4 separate regions of the Homo sapiens genome follow, and all the other regions are linked to region 1. The links are contacts of gene promoters, found by promoter capture Hi-C in human tissues and cell types (Jung and others, 2019). All regions are on one chromosome and are shown on one strand. The core of a region is centred on a gene start or on the middle of the fragment in contact, and the rest is flanking DNA. Distances in the headings are between cores, read along the strand shown. Region 1 holds the start of ATF1 (activating transcription factor 1). Region 2 overlaps SMAGP (small cell adhesion glycoprotein). Region 3 overlaps LARP4 (La ribonucleoprotein 4). Region 4 overlaps LOC107984505 (a long non-coding RNA gene).

Region 1 (6,514 bases), core at 3,486-5,985:
ACATCTATAGTCCCAGGTACCTGGGAGGCTAAGGTGGGAGGATGGCTTGAGCCTAGGAGGTCAAGGCTGCAGTAAGCTGAGATCGTGCACCACTGCACTCCAGCCTGGGCGACACAGCAAGACCGTCTAAAAAAAAATCCAACATTTATTTAGTGCTTACTATATACTAGGCACAGCTCTAACTTTACGTGTATCAAAGTAATTCAGTCTACAAAACCCTATGGGATAGGCAGTGTTATTAAATCCATTTCATTATAACCTCTTTTTTTAAAATTTTTTTTTAATGGGATGGAGTCTCCTTCTGTTGCCCAAGCTGGAGTGCCATGGAGTGATCTCAGCTCACTGCAACCTCTGCCTCCTGAGTTCAAGTGATTCTCCTGCCTCAACCTCCCGAGTAGCTGGGATTACAGGTGCATGCCACCACACCTGGTTAATTTTTTTTCTTTTTTTTTTGAGACAGAGTCTTGCACCATCACCCAGGCTGGAATGCAGTGGCACAATCTCAGCTCACTGCAACCTCTGCCTCCCAGGTTCAAGCGATTCTCCTGCCTCAGCCTCCTGAGTAGCTGGGATTACAGGTGCACACTACCACGCCTGGCTAATTTTTGTATTTTCAGTAGAGACGGAGTTTCACCATGTTGTCCAGGCTAGTCTCAAACTCCTGACCTCAGGTATCCACCCGCCTCGGCCTCCCAAGGTGCTGGGATTACAGGTGTGAGCCAATGCCTGGCCACATCTCTCTTTTCTAACAACAAAAAAGTGTGCCAGAAGAGCCAAAGTGGTGCTACCACAGGCTTGCCCAGTTTATTTTAAAAAAAACAATTACTTTTGGCCAGACACGGTGGCTCACACCTGTAATCCCAGCACTTTGGGAGGCTGAGGCGGGCGGATCACCTTAGGTCAGGAGTTCGAGACCAGCCTAACATGGTGAAACCCCATCTCTACTAAAAATACAAAAATTAGCCAGACGTAGTGGTAGGCGCCTGTAATCCCAGCTACTCAGGAGGCTGAGGCAGGAGAATCCCTTGAACCCAGGAGGCAGAGGTTGCAGTGAGCCAAGATACCCCCACTGCACTCCAGCCTGGGCGACAGAGCAAGACTCTGTCTCAAAAAAAAAAAAAAAATTACTTTCGGCTCTAAGTTTCTTTTTCTTTTTCTTTTTTTTTTTTTGAGGTGGAGTCTTGCTCTGTCACCCAGTCTAGAGTGCAGTGGCACGATCTCGACTTACTGCAACCTTCACCTCCTGGGTTCAAGGGATTCTCCTGCCGCAGCCTCCCAAGTAGCTGGGACCACAGGTGTGCTCCACCACGCTCAGCTAATTTTTTGTATTTTTGGTAGAGGCAGGGTTTTGCCATACTGGTCTTGAATTCCTGACCTCAAGTGATCCACCCACCTTGGCCTCCCAAAGTGCTGGGATTACGGAGGACGTGAGCCACCCTGCCCGGCCATGGCTCTAAGTTTCTTTGTTTCACTTTCCTTGCTTCTAATATTAAAGATCTGTCCATCTGATTTATGAAACTTACTATTCAGATAAACTGCATGCATCAGAACCAAGACCTCTTTTTTTTTTTCATCTAGTTATCACAGTTCAGAAGACTGGTAGGCACAGTTTATGATACTTCAATGAGAAAGAGACAAGAAAAGCAGAAGTATTTTTGAGGGGCAGTGTTGAACAAGCATAACTTTTTTTCTTCTTTTCCTCTGTCAACTGAGTCGTGGTTTTTTGTTTTTGTTTTTTTTTTTTGAGATGGAGTCTCACTGTTGCCCAGCCTGGAGTGCAGTGGCACGATCTCGGCTCACCACAAATTCCGCCTCCTGGGTTCAAGCGATTCTCCTGTCTCAGCCTCCCGAGTAGCTGGGACTGTAGGCTCACGCCATCACGTCTGGCTAACTTTTGTATTTTCAGTAGAGACGGAGTTTCGTCATATTTGCCAGGCTGGTCTCGAACTCCTGACCTCAGGTGATCCACCCACCGCGCCCTCCAAAGTGCTGGGATTACATGCGTAAGCCACCGTGCCCGGCCTGAGTTGTTTTTTAAACAATTTTAAAAAAAATTATTTTAGAGGCTAGGTGCCGTGGCTCATGCTCGTAATCCCAGCACTTTGTGAGGCTGAGCAGGCGGATCATTTGAGGTCAGCAGTTCGAGACCAAGACTGGCTAACATGGTGAAACCCCGTCCCTACTTAAAAAACTACAAAAATTAGCCAGCTGTGATGGCACACACCTGTAATCTCTCAGCTACTTGGAGGCTGAGGCAGGAGAATCACTGAAATCCGGGAGGTGGAGGTTGCAACGAGCCAAGATTGCACCAGTGCACTCCAGCCTGGGCGACAGAGGCAGACTCCATCTCAAAAAAAAAAAAAAAATTAGAGACAGTGTCTCATCTGTCATGTAGGCTTGAGTGCAGTGGCATGATCACAGCTCACTGTATCCTCAAACTCCCGAGCTCAAATGATCCTCCTGCCTCAGCCTCCCCAGTAGATGGGATTACAGGCGCATGCCACCAGGACTGGTCGAGCGTAACATTTGATTTAGACCTAAGGCACTAAGGAAGAGGAGCTAAAGAAGTAGTCAAGGCACATTTTGAAGGTTTCATTTTTCAATAAAATTTCCAGGTTTTTATTTTTTTTCTTTGGAGACAGTCTCCCTCTGTGGCTCAGGCTGGAGTGCAGTGGCGTGATCTTGGCTCACTGCAACATCTGCCTCCCAGGTTCAAGCGATTCTCATGCTTCAGCCTCCTGAGAGGCTGGGATTACAGGTGTGTGCCACCACACCTGGCTAATTTTTGTATTTTTAGTAGAGACGGGGTTTCACCATGTTGGCCAGGCTGGTCTCGAACTCCTGACCTCAGGTGATCTGCCCTCCCCCACCTCCCAAAGTGCTGGAATTACAGTCATGAACCACGACGCCTAGCCCCTCCCCCGCTTTTTACTGATCAACTTTTGTTAAGCATTCTGTGGTCCACGGAAGAAAAAACCAAACACCAAAGAACAATAAACTTGTACAACCAGCCTTCCAGCCATCAATATTCTGGATTCCAGAATGATTGAGGCTGGACTTTGTTAATCATCGAAGGCTGGTATCTGAGAAACTCTTCCTCTCCCTTACCTTTATAGGCCACTTTTCTTTCAGTAATGCTGAAACACTGACTTAATAACAGTTGTCCCCTGGTCTAGCATTTAATAGGTAATCCACAATTTTTGCTGAATGTCAATAGCTAAACGTTAGTGACCTCTTAAGACTGTCTGGCAGAGTAAATCTTCGGCTTTATATCACATTCTCCGACCCAAAGGGCCAAAAATAGGCAAAGCTCTCTCCACTAAATCGGTTTCCTAAATTGGGGATCTCAAACTAGTAAAATTTCAGAAAACTTTCGGAACTTTTGTCAAGAGCATACTAAAAAAGTTTATCTTTTGTCGTTTACTATCATTAAAGCCATAAAACAGCATTTTACAAGGAAATTTTAAAAATTAAGAATAAGGCATAACTCCCTTCCAGAGAGGTAGACCCAAAAATATTCTGAAGTTTTTGTAATGCATTAAAATGACGGCATAACATTTTATTAACACTCTGTTACGTTTCTTTTTTCTTTTTTTTTGAGACAGTTTTGCTCTTGTTGCCCAGGCTGGAGTGCAACGGTGCGATCTCGGCTCACCGCAACCTCCGCCTCCCGGGTTCAAGCGATTCTCCTGCCTCAGCCTCCCAAGTAGCTTGGATTACAGGCATTCGCCACCACACCCGGCTACTTTTGTATTTTTTAGTAGAGACGGGGTTTCTCCATGTTGGTCAGGCTGGTTTCGAACTCCCGATCTCAGGTGATCCGCCCTCCTGGGCCTCCCAAAGTGCTGGGATTACAGGCATGAGCCACCGCGCCCGGCCACATCGTTATGTCTCATTGTAAATCCGTTTCTGTAGAAAATCCTTCCACATGGGTTAAAGGACACAACTCATTGTTACTTTATGGGATTAAGAAAAATCTGAGTAAGGCCGGGCACGGTGGCTCACGCCTGTAATCCCAGAACTTTGAGAGGCCGAGGCGGAGGATCACTTGAGCCCAGGAGTTCAAGACCAGCCTGAGCAACATAGAGTCCTCATCTCTTCAAGCCGAGCGTGGTAGCGCGCGCCTGTGGTCCCAGCTGCCCCATAGGCTGAGGTTGGAGAATCGCTTGAATCCCGGGGTTGGAGGCTGCAGTGAGTCGAGATCGAACCACTGCACTACAGCCTGGGCCACAGACCCCCGTCTCAATCTCGGAAAAAAAAAAGAGACTCCATCTAAAAAAAAAAAAAAAAAAAAAAAGCTGAGGAAGTCAAAGCCTTCACTCTTCATTTCTCCTTCCAAGAGGACAGGGCCGGCGTCGGTCAAGGTCAATTGGCAGGTGAGTTGACAGCGCCGCCACTAATCGATGAAAACGCCCCCCGCGAGCACCCAGCTGCTCATGGCCTCCGGAAGCGGACGTAGGGCGGGTGGGGTACAGCTCCTAAGGAGAAACGGAACCGCAGGCACCGTCCCTCTCCCGCTGCAGCCTGAGGAACGCGTTCCGAGGAACCCCTAGCCACAAGTCAGGACCGCGTACAAGATGGCGGCGCGTCACGTGGGCAGCGCGGTGACGCAGGACGGCGGCCCGCGCGGAGGCAGCGCCATAGCCTACCCCAAACGCACACTAGTGCTCAGTTTTGCCCCCCTCCCCTCCCCCGCCCCCGCCCCCGCCCCCAGGCTTGTGTAGATCATGCCGCCAGTAGCGGCCCTGACTGCCGAGGAAACGGTAGCTTAGGACAGTTGGCTGTTAAGTGACACTGATTCTCCCCGCCCCGCCTGACCCCCGAGAAGGAGGCTTGTCCCCCGCTGCGTGAGGGGGTGGGGAAGTGGGTAGTGAATTCGGATCTACCTGGGAGGGGGGAGTGGAAGTTCCCGCCCCGGAGAGCGGCGAGGCGGCAGCCACAGGTAAGTGGGGGGCGGGGAGGGACGTGCCCCGTGGCCCGGGCGGGGAAGGACGCGGGAACGTGGCGCCGGCGGGGACGCAGCGCGGGTCGCGCGCCTGGTGGGGGTCGCGCGCGGTGGTGGCGGTGGGGGAGGGGCGCAGCGGCAGGGGGAGGGGCCGCCCGCGCTTCCGGCCTCCGCGCCTCGGTGCAGAGCTGCGCTGCGCCCTTCCAGTCGTGCGTCTCCTCCTTTCCCTCGCCCCCAAATAAAAGTAAAGCCCGAAACCGCCCGCCGCGGGGTGGCTTTCGCCTCAGAAGCCGCCCTTTGCAGTCGCAGGCGCTAGCTCTCCGTGGGAGGTCTCGAGGTTGGGCCCGGAGCCGGGCGGAGGGCGGCGCGGATATGGCCTCGGCGCGGTGTCCGCCGAGCGGAGCCCGGGTCTGGTTAACCCCGCGACAGGGTCCTCGAAGCGCGTCGGCGCTGGCGACCCTGAGGGAAGAGGCGCGCCCCTTACCCTCCTGGAGCTTGCAGTCTAGCGGGCAACCGACGCACGGGCATTGCGCACGCCCCAGACAGTCCTGGAGAGATGCGCCTGGCAGCGGAGACAGAGTGGGGACAGTAGGCGGCTTTACCCCTGGCTAGGAATGACACAAGGGCGTCTGTACCCTTTGGGATGGGCGACCCAGCCGAGGGTGACTTTCTCTTTGATCTTGTATGTCAAAAAACGAAGCCTGGCATTTCTCACTTTGATCGACGCCGTGCAGCTGGCGGCTGAATCGCTTTGAAATGATTGCAATGTGAAATAATGTCTGGTTGTGGCGCTAGTGTTTTGAAGAGATTGGGCAACTGGTAGTCTTTGAGAACCTTTAGGGTTCAGAAGCTCGGCGTGGATCTGGCAGGCATCTTTGTCAAACTGGCCTCACCTGTGATGAGTTCGTAGGCATTTATGTCTCAGAATGCATTTTAACCTGAGGTTTTTGTTAACAGAAATGCGTTCTTCTAAAATGCTCTTTTTTCTTGGAGTTTATCATATGCAGTTATCTCCGTGTCTTAATTAGAATCAATACTGTTGCCCTAAAGTCGAATGTATTAGCTCTTTAATACTTGCCGTTATCTTTTAGGGTTAGGTTTGGTCTGTGAGCTATCTGTCCATTCCTACCCGATCACCAGCAGGTGGCAGTCCCTTCTGACTTTAAATATAGGGTGTGCTATCTTTGCCAGTTTTTGTTTTGTTTTGTTTGTTTGTTTGTTTGTTTTTAAATAGAGATGGTGTCAGAGGCGTGTGAACTAGAACAACTCCATCTTAAACAGGAGCTGGGTAAAATGAGGCTGAAACCTACTGGGCTGCATTCCCAGACAGTTAAGGCATTCTAAGTCACAGGATGAGACAAGTCAGCACAAAATACAGGTCATGAAGACCTTGCTGATAAAACAGGTTGCAGTAAAGAAGCCGGCCAAAACTGAAATGGCCACAAGAGTGACCCCTGGTCATCCTCACTGCTACACTCCCATCAGCGCCATTTACAAATCCCATGGCAATGTCAGGAAGTTACCCTATATGGTCTAAAAAGGGGAGGCGTGATTAATCCACCCCTTGTT
Region 2 (5,735 bases), core at 2,627-5,126, 480 kb after region 1:
CACATACCTTCAGCACTTCTCACAATGTAACTGCTTTAGTCATATTAACCTGAAGTTGCAGTTTAGACACATGTTGTTGGGGTGTCTTTCTGGTGCCCAAACTTTCAGGCACTTTTCAAATTTAATAAGGAACCATGTAATGGTAGCAGTACCTCCCTAAAGCATTTTGAGGTAGGGGAGGTATCCATTCATAAAATGAATGTGGGTGAAGCCGCCCTAAGGATTTTCCTTTAATTTCTCTGGAGTAATACTGTACCATACTGGTCTTTGCTTTTAGTAATAAAACATCAAATTAGGTTTGGAGGGAACTTTGATCTTCCTAAGAATTAAAGTTGCCAAATTATTCTGATTGGTCTTTAATCTCCTTTAAGTCTTTGATATATATTACTTGTTATAAATGGAACGCATTAGTTGTCTGCCTTTTCCTTTCCATCCCTTGCCCCACCCATCCCATCTCCAACCCTAGTCTTCCATTTCCTCCCGCCAGTCTCCATTGAATCAATGGTGCAGGACAGAAAGCCAGTCAGACTAATTTCCTTCTTTCCTCGCACTTCTCCCCACTCGTCATCTTTTAACTAGTGTTTCACAAGGATCCTCTGAAACCCTCTCTGTGCCCCAAGTACAGATGCCATTACTTCTGCTTTCGTATCTCCTCAGGCAAAAGTGGAGGGTGCCTTATGGGCCCTCCTCATAGGTTGTCTCTGCATACACGAACCTAACCCAAATTTGCTTTGGTGCCAGAAAAACTGAGCTATGTTTGAACAAAGATGTCGTGCAAACTGTACTGTGAACAACAGTTGGTTTAAAATATGAGGGGCAAGGAGGAGGATGCATTTCAAAAGCTTGATTGATGTGTTCAGAGCTAAATTAAGAGGAGTTTTCAGATCAAAAACTGGTTACCATTTTTTGTCAGAGTGTCTGATGCGGCCACTCATTCGGCTCCCCAGAATTCCTAGACTGGGTTAATAGGGTCATATTGTGAATGTCTCACTACAAAATGACTTGAGTCCAGTGAAATCTCATTAGGGTTTAAGAATATTTCAGGGATCCTTAATGTTTTGATTTTTGTTTTCTGAAATTGGATTTTATTTTATTTTATCTTATAATTTCAGTTCATCTAAATTGTGTGTTCTGTACATGTGATGTTTGACTGTACCATTGACTGTTATGGAAGTTCAGCGTTGTATGTCTCTCTCTACACTGTGGTGCACTTAACTTGTGGAATTTTTATACTAAAAATGTAGAATAAAGACTATTTTGAAGATTTGAATAAAGTGATGAAGTTGCATTACACCTCACTGCAAGGATTCTTTACTTAGCTTGTTTTTAGATTTCTTCTATATATATTTTATTTATATCCCATCTAGAATTCAGCTAGGTGCTGCTGCTGCTCTGTTTCCTTTGATGACGCTTTGAAATAAAGGCAGGAGTACAAGCCTAAGACTTGATCATTTCATGAATTCCATTCCAGATGTTCAACTTTTCATCATTTTACTCCAACCTCTTACAAATTTTGGAATTTCGGACCTAAACTTAGAAATGAGGGAACTATTGATTCTCCTAACTTGCTCTAAAGTTTGGCTTGAAGAAAAGGTTCTGGTATAGCAATTTGTATACGTTGAGGATGACCTTTAGTTTCTCCAATGTTCTATGTGGAGAAATACTGAAAACTCATAGAATCTAGGTTGCCAAGATAGATTCCTCAGCTCTTTTATTTATTTTTTGAGACAGGGTCTCCCTCTGTCACCCGGGCTGGAGTGCAGTGGCAGTGTCTGCTCACTGCAACCTCCACCTCCCGGGTTCAAGTGATTCTCCTGTCTCAGCCTCCTGAGTAGCTGGGATTACAGGCACCTGCTACAACACCTGGTTCATTTCTGTACTTTTAGTAGAGACGGCTTCACTGCGTTGGCCACGCTGGTCTCAAACTCCTGACCTCAAGTGATCTGTCTGCCTCAGCCTCCCAAAGTATTGGGATAACAGGCAGTGAGTCACTGCACCCAGCCAGATTCCTCAGCTCTTGATCTTAACTTGGTTGGGTTTGAGCTTGGACAACAGAGGCAATACATTAAGACTTCAAAGGAGATCTAGCTTTAATTCCAAAGTGAACAATATCTGATGAGCTAATAATTTATACCAAAATGTGCCTTTTAAACACAACTTATCTTGAGACTAAAATCCAAGAAGCTTCTTGGCTTGATTCTGAGGATACACTGGGAAAGGTGGTAGGTTGATTTTTTCTGGTTCCTTCTGTATATATGTAGAAGGGATTCTGGGAAATTCTGGCCCTTGCCAGGATGGAGGCTTGAACCAACTCATCTCCCAGGGTACTTTTTTTTTTTTTTTTTTTTTTGAGACGGAGTCTCACTCTGTTGCCCAGGCTGGAGTATAGTGGTGCAATCTCAGCTCACTGCAAGCTCCGCCTCCTGGGTTCAAGCCATTCTCCTGCCTCAGCCTCCCAAGCAGCTGGGACTATGGGCGCCCGCCACCACGCCCAGCTATTTTTTTTATATATTTTTAGTAGAGACGGGGTTTCACCGTGTTAGCCAGGATGGTCTCGATCTCCTAACCTTGTGATCCGCCTGCCTCGGCCTCCCAAAGTGCTGGGATCACAGGCGTGAGCCACCGAACCCGGCCCTCCCAGGGTATGTTTCTAATGATGTTCCCCTGGAACAAGCTTTCCTGCACCATCTTTGTCTCAAATCCCTGAGATAGTTCTGCAAACTTCTAGAACTTTCCTAGGGTTCTTATTGCTTGGAAGAGAACATATGTAAAGGCGTTAAATAGGGAAAAGAAAATGTCAAAAATGTTTAAGCAAAAATAAGTCAAAATGTAGTTACTTCTTGCACATGAGAATCTGATTTCTGTAGCAATGAAAATTTTTAATTTGAATAAAAATCACGTAAGCATGAGGTTGTTGGGGAACACGGAAAGGAAGGGCTCAGATTAGGGGGTGTAGCACATTTATCAGGAGGTAAGATCTCCATAGTCTCCTACCCCTCCTGGCCTGGCCTTTTACTGTGGTATCCAGCCTCTGGGAAGACCTTGTATGGACAGTATCTCCACTGGGGCTATCACTAGGTGACCAGGTAGGGGACAGAGTAGAGCAGCCAATGACCTTAACTCAAAATCTTTTCTCTCCCTTCAACCTGTGAAAAAAGATGACTGGGCACATACTCAGATGTCCCCTGGCATAGCCACATCTTGTTGGCCAGTCACAAACACCAGCTCTAGTAAGAGGGCCTGGTTAAAGATATCATAAACAGCTTTCTCCATGTCCCTGGTCCCTGGAGTCAGTGATGTCGGCATTTGGGACTGCGACCTGGCTGGAGCTTGGATTTGCCCACATCAATCAATGCTTCTCCCTGGCTTCAGAGAAAACTTTCCCATAATAAGCAGTCAACGTGTTAGCGATGGAGCCAGGAATAAGCTCCTTGGGGCCTGGGAGTCATTAGATGAAATATTCCTCTTTCTCGCTGCCCTTGGCCAAGTCACTCTCCATCTGGACGATGGCACTGGGCTCACCTTCTGTAGGTTCATAGGTGACGTAGCTGCCTTTGTTCTTGTACAGGTAAAAGAAGATCAAGATCACGACCGAGAGCAGGGTGAGGAAGACAACGGTGATAACAACTTGGAAAGGAGAGGGAAAATGTAGAGATGTTTCAGGATTGAGGATGTCTCAGTAGTTCCTGGAGTCATCTGATTTAGTCACTGTTTTCGTAAAGATCCTCTTGTTTTCATTAACTAGTGTCCACTTCCATCCAAACCCATGTTCCCCCACCAACCCCAATTTCCATGGCACATAATAGCTGGAGTCTCCTGGTGCTTAAGCTAAGGACACATGCTTTTGATTTCTGACAAAACTGAACTGCCTCCCAAACCAGTTCCTGATTCTTAAAGAAACGGGAAGGAGGGAACAGGAAATGGCTTATCCTAACAGGAAGTGGTTTATCTGATCCTCCCCCTCTTCCTCACCCACTCAACCAACCACATATATCCTCGTCCCTACCCACGTACTCAAGTGTAACGTCCGTATGCATATCTATTTGCGGCCACCTCCCAACCTGTCATTTACTGGTAGTGCCTCTGACAGAAGCCTCCGAGTCTTTTATGGCTGTGTGTGTGTGTGTGTGTGTGTGTGTGTGTGTGTAATATAACTTACAAGCCAGAGTGAGCCCATTAATGGATTTGGTCAGGCTCCCTCTGGAGAGAGATGCCCTTGATCCAGAAGGTCCCTTGGAGTTGGCTCAGAGTCTATTACCTGCAATGAGTGCTGTGCTGGCTCCATCTTCTGGGGACAGGGCCTCAGTGGGCTGTAAAATTGGGGTGGTCATCAGTTCTTCTGGAAAATGTAGAAAAGTGGAAAAGGAAATGGAGTGAATTCTTTTGTTTGAAAGCATATGTTTGGCCTTCAAATTTCACCACCCCACCTTCTTCCCTATTCAAAAGTTTATCATTTAACTCCTAGAGTATATCCAAATAGAAAATCCTAGAGAATAAAGAAGAAAATAAACCACCACCCAAAGACAATATGTTGATGGATTTCTCCCTGCATAATATAGTGATTAAGAGTAGGGGCTATAGAGCCTGACAGACTGGGTTTCAAATATGAACTCTGTCCTTTACTAGCTGTGTGACCTTGGGAAAATTACCTAACCTCTATCTGCAAAATGGAGGTAAGAGTACCTACTTTAAAACGTTGTTGTGACATTTAATAAGTCACTCAGTAGGATAAGCCATTATTAGGAATGCATATTTTTACAATAAGTGAGATCAAATGAGTTGTATGTGTATATATTTACATTATATTATATAGCATGTGCATTTTCTTGCAGCATTCTTACTAATTCTTTGTAAACATTATTTTAACATAATGAAATAGTGCTCCTCTCCTATTAAAAACCCTTTTCTACACTTCCAGGATAGGCCCTGCAATTTGAAAGGTTCTGAAACAGGCCTCTCCTCTACCCTAAAATAGATCCTGCACCCCCTCCTGCTACGGGTTTATTTATCCTTCAGAGCGTGAAAGTCCCACCCTAAAGTCATTACCCAGGGACAGAACATGACAAAATGAGTGGTCTCCAGAAGTCCCTTTTAAGTGTTTACACAGGAAGTCAGGAAGCCCTTCCATTCTTTCCTATTAGCATTTTAATGTAGAGGTTACTGCAGGATAGAGGTCTCCTGGGGAAAACCAGCTGGCTGATCCTGGCAACACCCACAGGAGGCACCCCGACCTGACTGGCATCCCATAAACAGCAACACTCACCCACTGCCTCCTCTTTGCTAGGCCCTGTGCTAGATGAAAGGTCGAGCAAAACAGACACGGCCAGCTTCCCGAGGCTCACCCTCCACTGCACCCCACAGCTTGCACGGTGAGGAGCTGCTGTAAGTGCACTTAGGAAAGTGTGCAGCCGAGGGGCCTGATCTAGTCTTCCAGCCAGAAGCGACCCCCCAAGGGAGGAATATCTGACCTGGGAGCTGAAGCAGGGGTAAGAGTTTACCGGGTAACAGGGATGGGGCACATTCTAGGCAGAGAGAAGAGCCTGGGTCAAAGCTCTGAGACCAGGGGACTCAAAGGCCAGCGTGGCCCGAGCGCGGTGTGAGCATGACTCCCGTCCAGTGCCTGACACGTTCAGGTTTCCATCCACAGCAAGTGAAATGAGGGTATCAGTGGTGGTCTGGTGGGCCTATGCTAAGAGGGGCCAAGAGTGTTGAAGGGTCTTTCCACGCGGGCCCAG
Region 3 (6,200 bases), core at 1,760-4,259, 300 kb before region 1:
GTTTTCTCTGATGCCTGTGCATGAATTCAGTTGTGCAATCATAGCTCGCTGCAGCCTCAAACTCCTGGGCCCAAGCAGTCTTCTGCCTCAGCCTTCCAAGTAGCTGGGCATATTATAGGTGCATACCACTGCACATTTTAATTTTTTTTTGCAGTGATGGGGTCTTGCTGTGTTGCCCCAGCTGGTGTCGAACCCCAGATCTCAAACAATCCTCCTGCCTCAGCCTCCCAAAGTGCTGAGATTACAGGCGTGAGCCACTGTGTCCAGCCCACAACATTTTTTAATGTAAAATTTACTTCACTTTGGCCTGGCACGGTGGCTCACACCTGTAATCCCAGCACTTTGGGAGGCCAAGGCAGGCATATCACAAGGTCAGGAGATCGAGACCATCCTGGCTAACACGGTGAAACCCCATCTCTACTAAACAAAATACAAAAAATTAGCTGGACGTGGTGGCTGGCGCCTGTAGTCCCAGCTACTTGGGAGGCTGAGGCAGGAGAATGGCGTGAACCCGGAAGGCAGAGCTTGCAGTGAGCTGAGATGTGCCACTGCGCTCCAGCCTGGGCAACAGAGCGAGACTCCATCTCAAAAAAGTTTACGTCACTTTTTAAAATAACATCTGGAATGTAAAAGGGGCAACACTTTTACAACATTATTCTTTTGTGTTTAACTTAATTTTTTGAAAACCCCAGTACAACAGGAGCCAATTTTTTACCTAAGGAAAGATGTTTTTCTGTCTCGATTTACTGCTTTGTGTATATCATTTTGTATTTCCTATAGTGTGAAGCCTCAGTTTAGGTCATCTGGTGGTTCAGAACACTCAACAGAGGGCTCTGTATCCTTGGGGGATGGACAGTTGAACAGATATAGTTCAAGAAACTTTCCAGCTGAACGGCATAACCCCACAGTAACTGGGCATCAGGAGCAAACTTACCTTCAGAAGGAGACTTCCACTTTGCAGGTGGAACAGAATGGGGACTATGGTAGGGGCAGGTAAGAAAATAAAGTACCTGAAAACCTTTGATAATAATGTGATCATCCTGAATAATTGAAGAACATGATCTTCATAATAATTAAATGAGCATTTAATTATTGGTATATGGTTATATTAAATAAATACGTTATTTTCAGAACATGAGTTGGTTGCTTTTTATAATTATTAAGAAATAGAGTGCCCATACAGAATATAGCTCTGAATCAGAGGTTTATAAAGTTATTCTGAAGTTCCTTATAGCTCATATAAGAAAGAATAGCTTAGAAAATTAACATATCCATTTGCCTTATGGTTTTAATTTCTTCCAGCTTTTAAACTATAGAAGTGGCTGGGTGCGGTGGCTCACACCTGTAATCCCAACACTTTGGGAGGCCGTGGTGGGAGGATCATCTCAGGTCAGGAGTTCAAGACCAGCCTGGCCAACATGGTGAAACCCTGTCTCTATGAAAAAATACAAAAATTAGCTGGGCATGGTGGCAGGCGCCTGTAATCCCAGCTACTTGGGAGCCTGAGGTAGGAGAATCACTTGAACCCAGGAGGCAGAGGTTGCAGTGAGCCAAGGTTGCACCACTGCATTCCAGCCTGGGTGACAGAGCGCGACTCTGTCTCAAAATATAAATAAACTATAGGGGTGAGGTTATATATTGCCAACTTGCCTAATTAAACAATAGTATGGTTCTGGTTTGAAGGGATCACTACTAACAAATGGGCTCATCTTACTTTATGGTGTGGTAGTAGGTAAAGTTTTTAGTAAATTGGCTCAAGATCCCTCAGAATAATATATTATCTTTTAGTAATAGAGAAAACTAGCCCCAAATGTAGAAAGATGTTTAAATTGAAATGTATACAGCTGGCCAGGCATGGTGGCTCACGCCTGTAATCCCAGCACTTTGGGAGGTGGGGCAGGCGGATCATGAGGTCAGGAGATCGAGACCATCCTGGCCAACATGGTGAAACCCTGTCTGTACTACAAATACCAAAATTAGCTGGGTGTGGCAACACGTGCCTGTAATTCCAGCTACTCAGCAGGCTGAGGCAGGAGAATTGCTTGAACCCGGGAGGCAGTTCGTAGTGAGCCGAGATCGCGCCACTGCACTCCAGCCTGGCGACAGAGCGAGACTCCATCTCAAAAAAAAAAAAAATGTGTACGGCTTTGATAGAATGTATATATCTGAAGAAACTTATGACTTGTCCCTCCACCCCACCCCACCCCCACCTTTTTCTTATTAAAAGGAGAACTCTCTTCAGAGGTCGAAGACGACGAGAAGATGACAGGATCTCAGTAAGTTTTTTAAAACTTTTATTCAGACTTTTTTCTCTTCTGTGATTTACTATGGCATTGACTTTCGGTCTTTCCTTTCTGGGTTTTTGTTTTATTGATTGTAGTCTTCAGCAAAGGTAAATAGAGCCTAAATTTAACCCTGAAATTTTTACCACCACCACCCATATACCCACCCTCTAGCACACATGTAGTAAGGAGCTTCGCTTGTGTTGCTTGCTTAAAAAAATTATTTGAAGATCTAATGTATTCACATGATTTTTAAATAAAAACACGAAGTCTTTCTAACTTTCCTTACCTTTTCTTTCTTCTTTCTTTTCCAAGACACAGGATATTACTGTTTCCCAGGGCACTGGAATTACAGGCCTGAGCCACTGTGCTTGGTACAAGATTAAGGACTTCTAGGGAGAGGCAGAGGAGGAACGGGTCTTGCTCTGTCACCCAGGCTGAAGTGCAGTGGTACAATCATGGCTCACTGCAGCCTTCACATCCCAGGCTTAAGTGATCCTCCTCTCGAGTCGGGGTCTTGCGGGCCAGGCACCGTGGCTCGTGCCTGTCATCTCAGCTCTTTGGGAGGCTTAGTCAGTGGATCACTTGAGGCTACAGGCCCCATGCAAGTGCAAAACCAAGCAGAACGGTCAGGACATCTTCAAAGCTCCAAAATACTCACCTTTGGCCAGGCATGGCGACTCAAGTCTGTAATGTCAGCTCTTTGTGAGGCTGAGATGTACGGATCACTTGAGCTCAGGAGTTGGATACCAGCCTGGGCAAGGTGATGAAACCCCATCTCTCCAAAAAAAAAAAAAAAAAAAAAAAAAAAATTAGCCAGGCACCATGGTGCACGCCTGTTGTCCCAGCTACTTGGGAGGCTGAGGCAGGCTGATCCCTTGAGCCCAGAAGGTGGAGTGCAGATTGTGCCACTGCACTCCAGCCTGAGCAACAGAGTGAGACTCTGTCTCAAAAATAATAAACAAAATAATCTCCTTTGACTCCATGTCCCACACCTAGGGTACACTGATGCAAGGGTTGGGCTCCCAAGGCCTTAGGCAGCTCCACCCCTTTGGCTTTGCAGGGATCAACCCTGGAGGCTGCTCTCATGGGCCCATGTTGAATGCCTGTGGCTTTTCTATGCCTGTTCTGGAGTCTGGAGGACGGTGGCCCTCTTCTGCCACTATGCAGTGCCCTAGTGGAGGCTTGATGTGAGGGCTCCAGCCCCGTATTTCCCCTCTGCACTGCCCTAGTAGAAGTTTTCCATGAGATCTGTGCCCCTGGAGCAGGTTTCTGTCTGGACTTATACCAGGCTGGTATAAGTTTCTTTCAGAGGATGCCATACATCCTCTGAAATTGAGTCAGAGGCTCCAAAGCCAGTCTAGGAAGTTCGTCATCTCTATCTTCTTTTGAGCCTTCCAGACTCTTCCACCCTCTACCTGTTACCCAGTTCCAGTGTTGCTTCCACATTTTCAGTTATCTTTATAGCAGTGCTCCACTCCTCAGTACCAATTTTCGTTAAGCCGTTCTCACATTGCTGTAAAGAAATACTTGAGACTGGATAATTCATAAAGAAAAGAGGTTTAATTGGCTAACAGTTCTGCAGGCTGTACAGGAAGCATGATGCAGGCATCTGCCCAGCTTCTGGGGAGGCCTTGGGAAACTTACAATCATGGCTGAAGGCAAATGGGGACCACACAGTTTATACATGGCAGAAGTAGGAGAGAAGAAACCCATTTTCAAAGAAGAAAATATGTTCCATTATAACTTAGAATTGTTTTTAGGGTATACTAAATCTTTTAAATGCTTTTGTTACCCAGGCTAGAGTGCAAATGGCACAATCTCAGCTCACTGCAACCTCTGACTCCCGGGTTCAAGCAGTTCTCCTGCCTCAGCCTCCCGAGTAGCTGGGTCTACAGTCACCTGCCACCACGTCTGGCTAATTTTTTGTATTTTTAGTAGAGACGGAGTTTCACCATGTTGGCCAGGCTGGTCTCGAACTCCTGACCTCAGGTGAGCCACCTGCCTTGGCCTCCCAGAGTGCTGGGATTACAGGCGTGAGCCATCGTGCCTGACCAACAATTCTTTTTTTGAGACAGAGTTTCGCTCTTGTTGTCCACGTTGGAGTGCAGTGGCGTGATCTCGGCTCACTGCAACCTCTGCCTCCTGGGTTCAAGTGATTCTCTTGCCTCAGTCTCCCAAGTAGCTGGAATTACAGGCGCTCGCCACCGTGCCTGGCTAATTTTTGTATTATAGTAGAGACAGGGTTTCACCATGTTGGCCAGGCTGGTCTCAAACTCTTGACCTCAGGTGATCCACCTGCCTCGGCCTCCCAAAGTGCTGGGATTATAGGCATGAGCCACTGCACTCAGCCCAACAATTCTTTCTTAGCATTCCATAGTAGCAGTCCACATGACTTCTCAAGTGGCCCTCAACAATTTGGAATAAGAGATTAGGCCCTGCATGGTGGCTCAGGCCAGGCGTGGTGTCTCACGCCTGTAATCCCAGCACTTTGGGAGGCCCCGGTGGGTGCATTGCCTGAGGGTAGGATTTCAAGACCATCCTGGCCAACATGGTGAAACCCCATCTCTACTAAAAATACAAAAATTAGCCGGGTATGGTGGTGGGTGCCTGTAGTCCCAGCTACTCAGGAGGCTGAGGCAGGAGAATCACTTGAACCCAGGAGGCAGAGGTTGCAATGAGCTGAGATCATGCCACTGCACTCCAGCCTGGGCGACAGAGCCAGACTCTGTCTCAAAAAAAAAAAAAAAAAAGAGAGATTAGATTTGGGGTTTATTCAATATGTTGTAAATGTCATGATGGAGGACTAAACATTGGGGTTAAAGAAACAGGCATGACTTCCAGTAGGTAGGTCATGGTAGAGGAGCTCTTTTGCAGGAGGGAGATCTTAGCTGGGAATAAAATTTTGGATTTGTAAGCCTTCACATAGTAATTGGAGTGATAAGCTCATGCAGAGTACTCTCCATAGAGTGGTGAAAGTGGTCTAATATGGAACCTTGGGGAATAAAGCAGCAGTGTTGGGTTGAAAAATGAGATTATTCAGCATGCTGTTTGAAGTATTCAAGCAAAATCTGAATGGACATGGGTAATGGACAAATGTTATCTCGGTTGTAGGCAAAGGCCTAGGCTGAAAATATTTAAAACCTACAATTCAATGATATTTTTGTAAATTTACAGAGATATACCGCCATCACCACCAAAAAGCAAAACAGGTTGTTTTAACAGTTGCTTGCATATAGGTAGTAGTTGAAGCCATGGATAGTGGACATCACTCAAGGAGAATATGAGAAGTAAAGAGTAATAACCAAATGGAAACCATCAAAATTTTAGAAATGGTCAGGGGAAAAAGAGCACATGTCTGTCAAATCTAAAAAACAAAAAAGGTATCACAGAAGCTAAGAGAAAAATGTGTTCCCAAGGAAAGGATGGTTAACACACCAAATGCTATATGTCAGGAAATGAGAGGTCAGGAAAAAGGGTCTGTCAGGTTTTGCATTGTTGAAGGCATTGGTGACACCTAAAATAATTTTAGTGGAGTGATGACAAAGTGGAGGAGATACAAGTAAGAGGTAAGAGGCTTGTCAGAGGATATATAGGGTGTTAGACAGGAGGGAAGCATGAGATTTTTCATATATGTTATATAGAGGAGGGATATTGTTTTCTCTTGAGATAAATAGATGGAGAAAGATGGTGATGGGCGGGCACAGTTGCTTAAGCCTGTAGTCCCAGCACTTTGGGAGGCCAAGGAGAGAGGATCACTTAAGCTCAAGAGTTTGAGACCAGCCTGGGCAACGTAGTGAAACCTTGTCACTACTAAAAAACAAAAAATAAAAATTTAGCCAGGTGTGGTGGCGCGCACAGCTACTCTGGAGGCAAAAAAGGCAGGAGGATTACTTGAGTCCAGGAAGTCAAGGTTGT
Region 4 (6,268 bases), core at 843-3,342, 480 kb before region 1:
CAAATAGTAAATATTTTAGGCTTTGTGGGACTTATAGTCTCTGTCACAGCTACTCAGCTCTCACTGTAGTGCCAAATGTGCCAAAGTAGCCATAGACAATACTTAAAGAATGGGCATGGGCCAGGTGCAGTGGCTCACACCTGTAATCCCAGCACTTTGGGAGGCCCAGGCAGGGATCACTTGAGGCCAGGAGTTAGAGACTAGCCTGGCCAACATGGCAAAACCCTGTCTTTACAAACAAATAAAATAAACAGACAAAAAAGCTGGGTGTGGTGGTGTGTGCCTGTAATCCCAGTTACCTGGGAGTGTGAAGTGGGAGGATGCCTTGAGCCCAGGAGTTGGAGATTGTAATGAGCCGAGATCACACCACTGCACTCCAGCCTGGGCGACAGAACAAGACCCTGTCTCAAACAAAAAACTCATAGGCCTTTATCTGATAGTGAAGGGAACAATAGAGTTGAAAGGGAAAAATGGAGTAGATACAGGCAAATGTTTACATACATGATACGGTGCAACAAGAATAGCAGAACATACTGCAAAAGAAATTATGTCAACATATTTAAGAATCTTGGAAGAGAATGGCAAATATGCACTATAATTGATGAGACATCTACATATTGGAAGAAAATTACCTAGAGATTTATCTCCAGTACACAGTTGAATAAGCTTCTGTACTGGTAAAGATATTTGTTGCTTTAAAAGAATTGGTGTCAGCTGGGCACGGTGGCTCACGCCTATAATCCCAGCACTTTGGGAGGCTGAGGTGGGCAGATCACAAGTGGGCGGATCACGAGGTCAGAAGTTCGAGACCAGCCTGGACAACATGGTGAAATCCCATCTCTACTAAAAATACAAAAATTAGCCAGGTGTAGTAGTGTGCGCCTGTAGTCCCAGCTACTCAGGAGGCTGAGGCAGGAGAATCGCTTGAACTCCAGAGACACAGGTTGCAGTGAGCAGAGATCACACCATTGCACTCCAGCCTGGGCAACAGAGCGAGACTCCATCTCCAAAAAAAAAAAAAAAAGTAATTGGTGTCTGCCACACAGATTATATTTCTACTACATTATTGTCTATTTTACTTTTTTTCTTTTGAGGCAGAGTTGTGCTCTGTCCCTCAGGCTGGAGTGCACTGGCACGATCTTGGCTCACTGCAACCTCTGCCCCCTGGGTTCAAGTGATTCTCCTGTCTCAACCAAGTAGCTGGGATTACAGGCGTGCACCACCAAGCCCAGCTAATTTTTGTATTTTTAGTAGAGACAGGGTTTCACCATGTTGGCCAGGCCGGTCTCAAACTCTTGACCTCTAGTGATCGACCAGCCTTGGCCTCCCAAAGTGCTGGGATTACAGGCGTGAACCGCCGCGCCCAGCCGATATTGTCTACTTTAAATGTGGCTTCAGTAATGAATATTTGAAATTTAATAATGAATAGTTGAAAGTAAGCTGCATTTTGTTTTAATGGTGCTTTCACAATAATGGGAAAGAAGACTGGAGTGGCCACAGATTTGTCAGAAAAATTTCCTAATGTCATCATTTGGTTCTGTTACCAATTATAATTCAGTATCTGAAATAAAACAAGTCAATCATTTAAAAATATTCTGGATAGTCTGGGCACGGTGGCTCATGCCTGTAATTCCAGCACTTTAGAAGGCCGAGGCAGGCGGATAACTTGAGGTCAGGAATTCAGAACTGGCTTGGCTAACATGGTGAAAGCCTGTCTCTACTAAAAATACAAAAATTCACTGGGCGTGGTGGTGCACGCCAGTAGTCACAGCTACTCGGGAGGCTGAGGCAGGAGAATCACTTGAACCCAGGAGGCGGAAGTTGCAGTGGACTGAGATTGTGCCACTGCACCCCAGCCTGAGACAGAGTGAGACTCCGTCTCAAGAAAAAATAACAATATTATGGATAAAATTTATTCTGTTTACCACCAACCCAAAAAAAGGAAACAGTTGGAAATTATAGCTAAATAACTTGAAACTGAAATTATTAAAATTAGCCAAGTACTTAGGTTGAGATGGGTGGACATGTACTTTACCAACCGCTAATGCTGCATGGCACACATATCCTACATTATAAATGCATTTTTCTCATTCTTTTTATTCTGGCCTAGCAACAAGATCAGCTAATATTAATTTCTTGTAATACCTTACTTTAATGATTGATATTCTTAAATAATTTTCATTACTTTCAGTTGCACTGCAGTTAAGATCAACCAACATTCAGAAAATTAAAAAATTAATAGAATGCACTATAAAAGCTTTGGAAAAATTAAAAATTGGCATTAGAAAGCATGACTCTCAAGTTGAATATTTGGTTAAGTCATCAGTTTGAAGTCATTCCATTTAATAATTTTTTTTTTGAGGCAGGGTCTCACTCTGTTGCCCAGGTTGGAGTGCTGTGGCACAATCATAGCTCATTACAACCTCACACTCCTGAACTCAAGTGATTCTCGTGCCTCTGCCTCTCAAGTAGCTGGGACGACAGGCACATGCCACTACACCTGGCTAATTTTTAAAAACTTTTGGTAGAGATGGGGTGTCACATGTTGCCTAGGCTGGTCTTGAACTCTTGGCCTCAAGCAATCTTCTCATCTTGGACTCCCAAAGCACTGGGCTTACAGGCATGAACTGCCACACCTAGTCAAAAATAGATTTAAACCTCTGCCTAAGAATGTGTTACTAAAAAGTAATGAATACATGTCTTTTATTAGAAACATCATTTTAAGTTGTTTTTATTTGTTAAAATCACCTTCTTGGACTTCTTCACTGTGGAAAATAATATCATTTAAGTGAAATTTTAAAACATGTATTTTGAATTATTTTTTCTTTTTTTTTGATATGGAGTCTCGCTCTGTCACCCAGGCTAGAGTGCAGTGGCGTGATCTCAGCTCACAGCAACCTCCACCTCCCAGGTTCAAACGATTCTCCTGCCTCAGCCTCCCAAGTAGCTGGGATTACAGGCGCCTGCCACCACGCCCAGCAATTTTTTGTATTTTTAGTAGAGACAGGGTTTCATCATGTTGGTCAGGTTGGTCTCGAACTCCTGACCGCAAGTGATGCGCCCACCTCGGCCTCCCAAAGTGCTGGGATTACAGGTGTGAGCCACCATGCCTGGCCTTGAGTTATTTTCAAGATTTTGCAAGTAATAATTTAGAATCAAACAAAATTACAATCCCTGCAATTATACAAAAAGCTAAAAAGATAGCATTATTGCAATCAATAGTGCTAAAACTGAAAGAAGTTTCATTTTAATAAGTTTGTATGAGGTTGAAAAATGGTAATGGATGAGGAATGGTAGTTTAATAGTAAATCAAATGTCACACTTAAGGACAAGAAATATGTTGGGAAAAGATTAGCAGATTGAAAACATCGAATGATGGTTGAATTGCCATCATAAATTGGCTGAGGTAGAAGAGTTTGGAAAAATTATTGAAAGCTTGTGGAATCAACTGGCTGTGTGGAATTCACAAAAAGAGTATTTTATATTTATTATTTGTAAGCTGTAAGCTACACATGCTTTATATTAGTAACATTTTTATAGATTTATATAGATAGATATAGATATGCACACATTATCTCCCCAGGGAGCTGGTTGTTTATTAGCACATTAATGAGTAGTATGTATTTTTAGGGGTAATGTGAAGCTCAAACAAGAAAATGTATGTAAAATATTTGGTATTGCTTACTACAAACTTGATAATAAATGTTAACTCTGTTCCCACTTTCCACCCTACCTGCTTTGTTCTTTCCTGAACAAGTTACTTAACTTTTCAACCATAGTTTCCTAATGGGAATTACAGGTTCATTCCTAATTGACTTTTGGGGATTCAATAAAATGGCATGTCTTACTTAGCTGACAAACTAGGAGCTTAGATTTCTGTTCCTCCTTCTTCTTTTAGTATATAAAGGTGTAATTCATTAAGCATTTGGTAAAATGAAACTTCTGCCATGTCCTTAGGAATAAACCAAAGAAAAATGTTCCAAAATTATTTATAGTTAATAATCTCATATATTGTTATTTATCTAGATCTAGTCTACTTACTGCCAAACTTTTTTTTCATTTCAGTTTATAGTTATAGTTGATCAATCAGATGTCTTTTTTTTGGTAAATATTCTTGTTTTTTATTTTGTTTTTATTCCTGGCAAGCTATGATAGATAGGTAAACATTCTTTTTTTTTTGAGACAGAGTCTCACTTTGTTACGCAGGCTGGAGTGCAGTGGCACAATCTCGGCTCAGTGCAACCTCCGCCTCCCAGGTTCAAGGGATTCTCATGCCTCAGCCTCCCAAGTAGCTGGGATTACAGGTGTGCACCACAACGCCTGGCTAATTTTTTTTGTAAAGACGGGGTTTTGGCCATTCGCAGTGGCTCACACCTGTAATCCCAGCACTTTGGGAGGCCAAGGTGGGTGGATCACCTGAGGTTGGGAGTTCAAGACCAGCCTGACCAACATGGAGAAACCCCGTCTTTACTTAAAATACAAAATTAGCCGGCCGTGGTGGTACATGCCTGTAATCTCAGCTACTCGGGAGGCTGAGGCAGGAAAATCACTTGAACCCGGGAGGCAGAGGTTGAGGTGAGCTGAGATTGCGCCATTGCACTCCAGCCTTGGCAACAGGAGCAAAACTCTGTCTCAAAAAAAAAAAAAAGAAAAAAGAAAATGGGGTTTCACCATGTCTTGAACTCCTGACCTCAAGTGACTTGCCTGCCTTGGCCTCCCAAAATGCTTTGATTACAGGCATGAGCCACCACACCTGGGCAGTAAACATTCTTGAAAAAATATTGTTTACCTTAGATTATAAACTTGAGAATCAAGATCTGTTTAACCATATTCTCTCTTCTGCTTGCCTTCCATAGTTGGAAGAATTGAGTCAACCAAAGAGTACTATCCACTTCCAAATTATTTTTTACTCTTACCAAAATATGAACTTCTAGGGGGTTTTGTTTGTTTGTTTTGAGACAGGGTCTCACTCTGTTGCCTAGGCTGGAATGCAGTGGTGTGATCGTGGCTCATTGCAGCCTCAACCTCTGAGCTCAAACAGTCCTCCCACGTCAGCCTTCTGAGTAGCTGGGACTACATAGGCACATGCCACCACATCCTACTAATTTTTGTATTTTCTGTAGAGACAGGGTTTCACCACGTGGCCCAGGCTGGTCTGAAACTCTTGAGCTCAAGTGATCCACCTGCCTTGGTCTCCCAAAGTGCTGGGATTACAGGTGTGAGCCACTGCACCCATGAGATCTCTCTTTTTTTTTATGGCTGAATAGTACTCCACTGTGTATAGGTACCACATTTTCTTTATCCCATTCATCTGTTGATGGACACTTAGGTTGCTTCCAAATCTTGGCTATTGTGAATAATAGTGCTGCAATAAACATGAGAGTGCAGACATCTCTTTGACAAAGTGATTTCCTTTCTTTTGGGTATATACCTAGGAGTGGAATTGCTGGATTGTATAGTAGCTCTATTTTTAGTTTTTTGAGGAACCTCCAAACTGTTCTCTGTTATAGTTGTACTAATTTATATTCCCACCAACAGTGTACGAGGGTTCCCTTTTCTCAACATTCTTGCCAGCATTTATAATAATAAATGCCTGTCTTTTGGATAAAAGCTATTTTAACTGGGTGAGATGATATCTCATTGTAGTTTTCATTTGCATTTCTCTGATGATCAATGAATTATGTTGATCACCTTTTCATAAACCTGTTTGCCATTTGTATGTCTTCTTTTGAGAAATGTCTGTTCGGATGTTTTGCCCATTTTTAATTGAGTTATTAGATTTTTTTTCCTATACAGTTGTTTGAGCTCCTTATATATCCTGAGAAAATATTTGCAAATATTTTTCTCCTGTTCTGTGGGTTGTCTCTTCACTTTGTTCATGGTTTCCTTTGCTATGCAGAAGCTTTTTAACTTGATGTGATCCCATTTGTCCATTTTTGCTTTGATTGCCTGTGCTTGTGGGGTATTACTCAATAAATCTTTGCCCACTTCAATGTCCTGGAGAGTTCTTCCAATGTTTTCTTTTAGTAGTTTCATAGTGTGAGGTCTTAGATTTAAGTCTTTAATCCATTTTTATTCGATTTTTGTATATGCTGAGAGGTAGGGGTTAAGTTTCATTTTTCTGCATATTGGATATCCATTTTTCCCACCACCATTTATTGAAGAGACTGTCTTTTCCCCAATATGTGTTCTTGGCACCTTTGTTGAAAATGAGTTTACTATAGATGTATAGATTTGTTTCTGGATCCTCTATTCTGTTCCATTGGTC

What was found. The method cuts DNA at HindIII sites, captures the fragments that hold promoters and counts their contacts. A contact is called where the count stands out against the background at its distance.
Region 2: a fragment that was not itself captured here is called in contact with the fragment with the promoter of ATF1 in region 1 in 1 of the 25 tissues and cell types used here (dorsolateral prefrontal cortex).
Region 3: a fragment that was not itself captured here is called in contact with the fragment with the promoter of ATF1 in region 1 in 1 of the 25 tissues and cell types used here (stomach).
Region 4: a fragment that was not itself captured here is called in contact with the fragment with the promoter of ATF1 in region 1 in 1 of the 25 tissues and cell types used here (dorsolateral prefrontal cortex).

What each region holds. Positions count from the first base shown.
Region 1 is chr12:50,759,366-50,765,879 of GRCh38, forward strand. It overlaps ATF1 (activating transcription factor 1), which reads left to right and starts at 4,736. Exons shown (of 7, transcript NM_005171.5): 1 at 4,736-4,942. RefSeq lists enhancers at 2,331-3,199, 5,500-5,599 and silencers at 4,690-4,769, 4,990-5,079. The HindIII fragment of the contact is 17,018 bases long and covers 1-6,514 here.
Region 2 is chr12:51,242,493-51,248,227 of GRCh38, forward strand. SMAGP (small cell adhesion glycoprotein) reads right to left here. Exons shown (of 4, transcript NM_001031628.2): 3 at 4,259-4,339; 4 at 2,066-3,627. The coding sequence ends at 3,449. DAZAP2 (DAZ associated protein 2) reads left to right here. Exons shown (of 4, transcript NM_014764.4): 4 at 1-1,441. Among named protein-coding and RNA genes, the nearest start is that of DAZAP2, 6.5 kb to the left of the region's middle. RefSeq lists enhancers at 4,957-5,458, 5,459-5,735. The HindIII fragment of the contact is 4,727 bases long and covers 1,514-5,735 here.
Region 3 is chr12:50,460,355-50,466,554 of GRCh38, forward strand. It overlaps LARP4 (La ribonucleoprotein 4), which reads left to right. Exons shown (of 16, transcript NM_052879.5): 11 at 781-993; 12 at 2,228-2,276. Among named protein-coding and RNA genes, the nearest start is that of SNORD133, 6.9 kb to the left of the region's middle. The HindIII fragment of the contact is 7,756 bases long and covers 1-6,200 here.
Region 4 is chr12:50,285,831-50,292,098 of GRCh38, forward strand. The region is part of intron 1 of LOC107984505 (a long non-coding RNA gene); the gene reads left to right. It also overlaps the pseudogene LOC100418734. Among named protein-coding and RNA genes, the nearest start is that of LIMA1, 5.4 kb to the left of the region's middle. The HindIII fragment of the contact is 5,152 bases long and covers 1-4,668 here.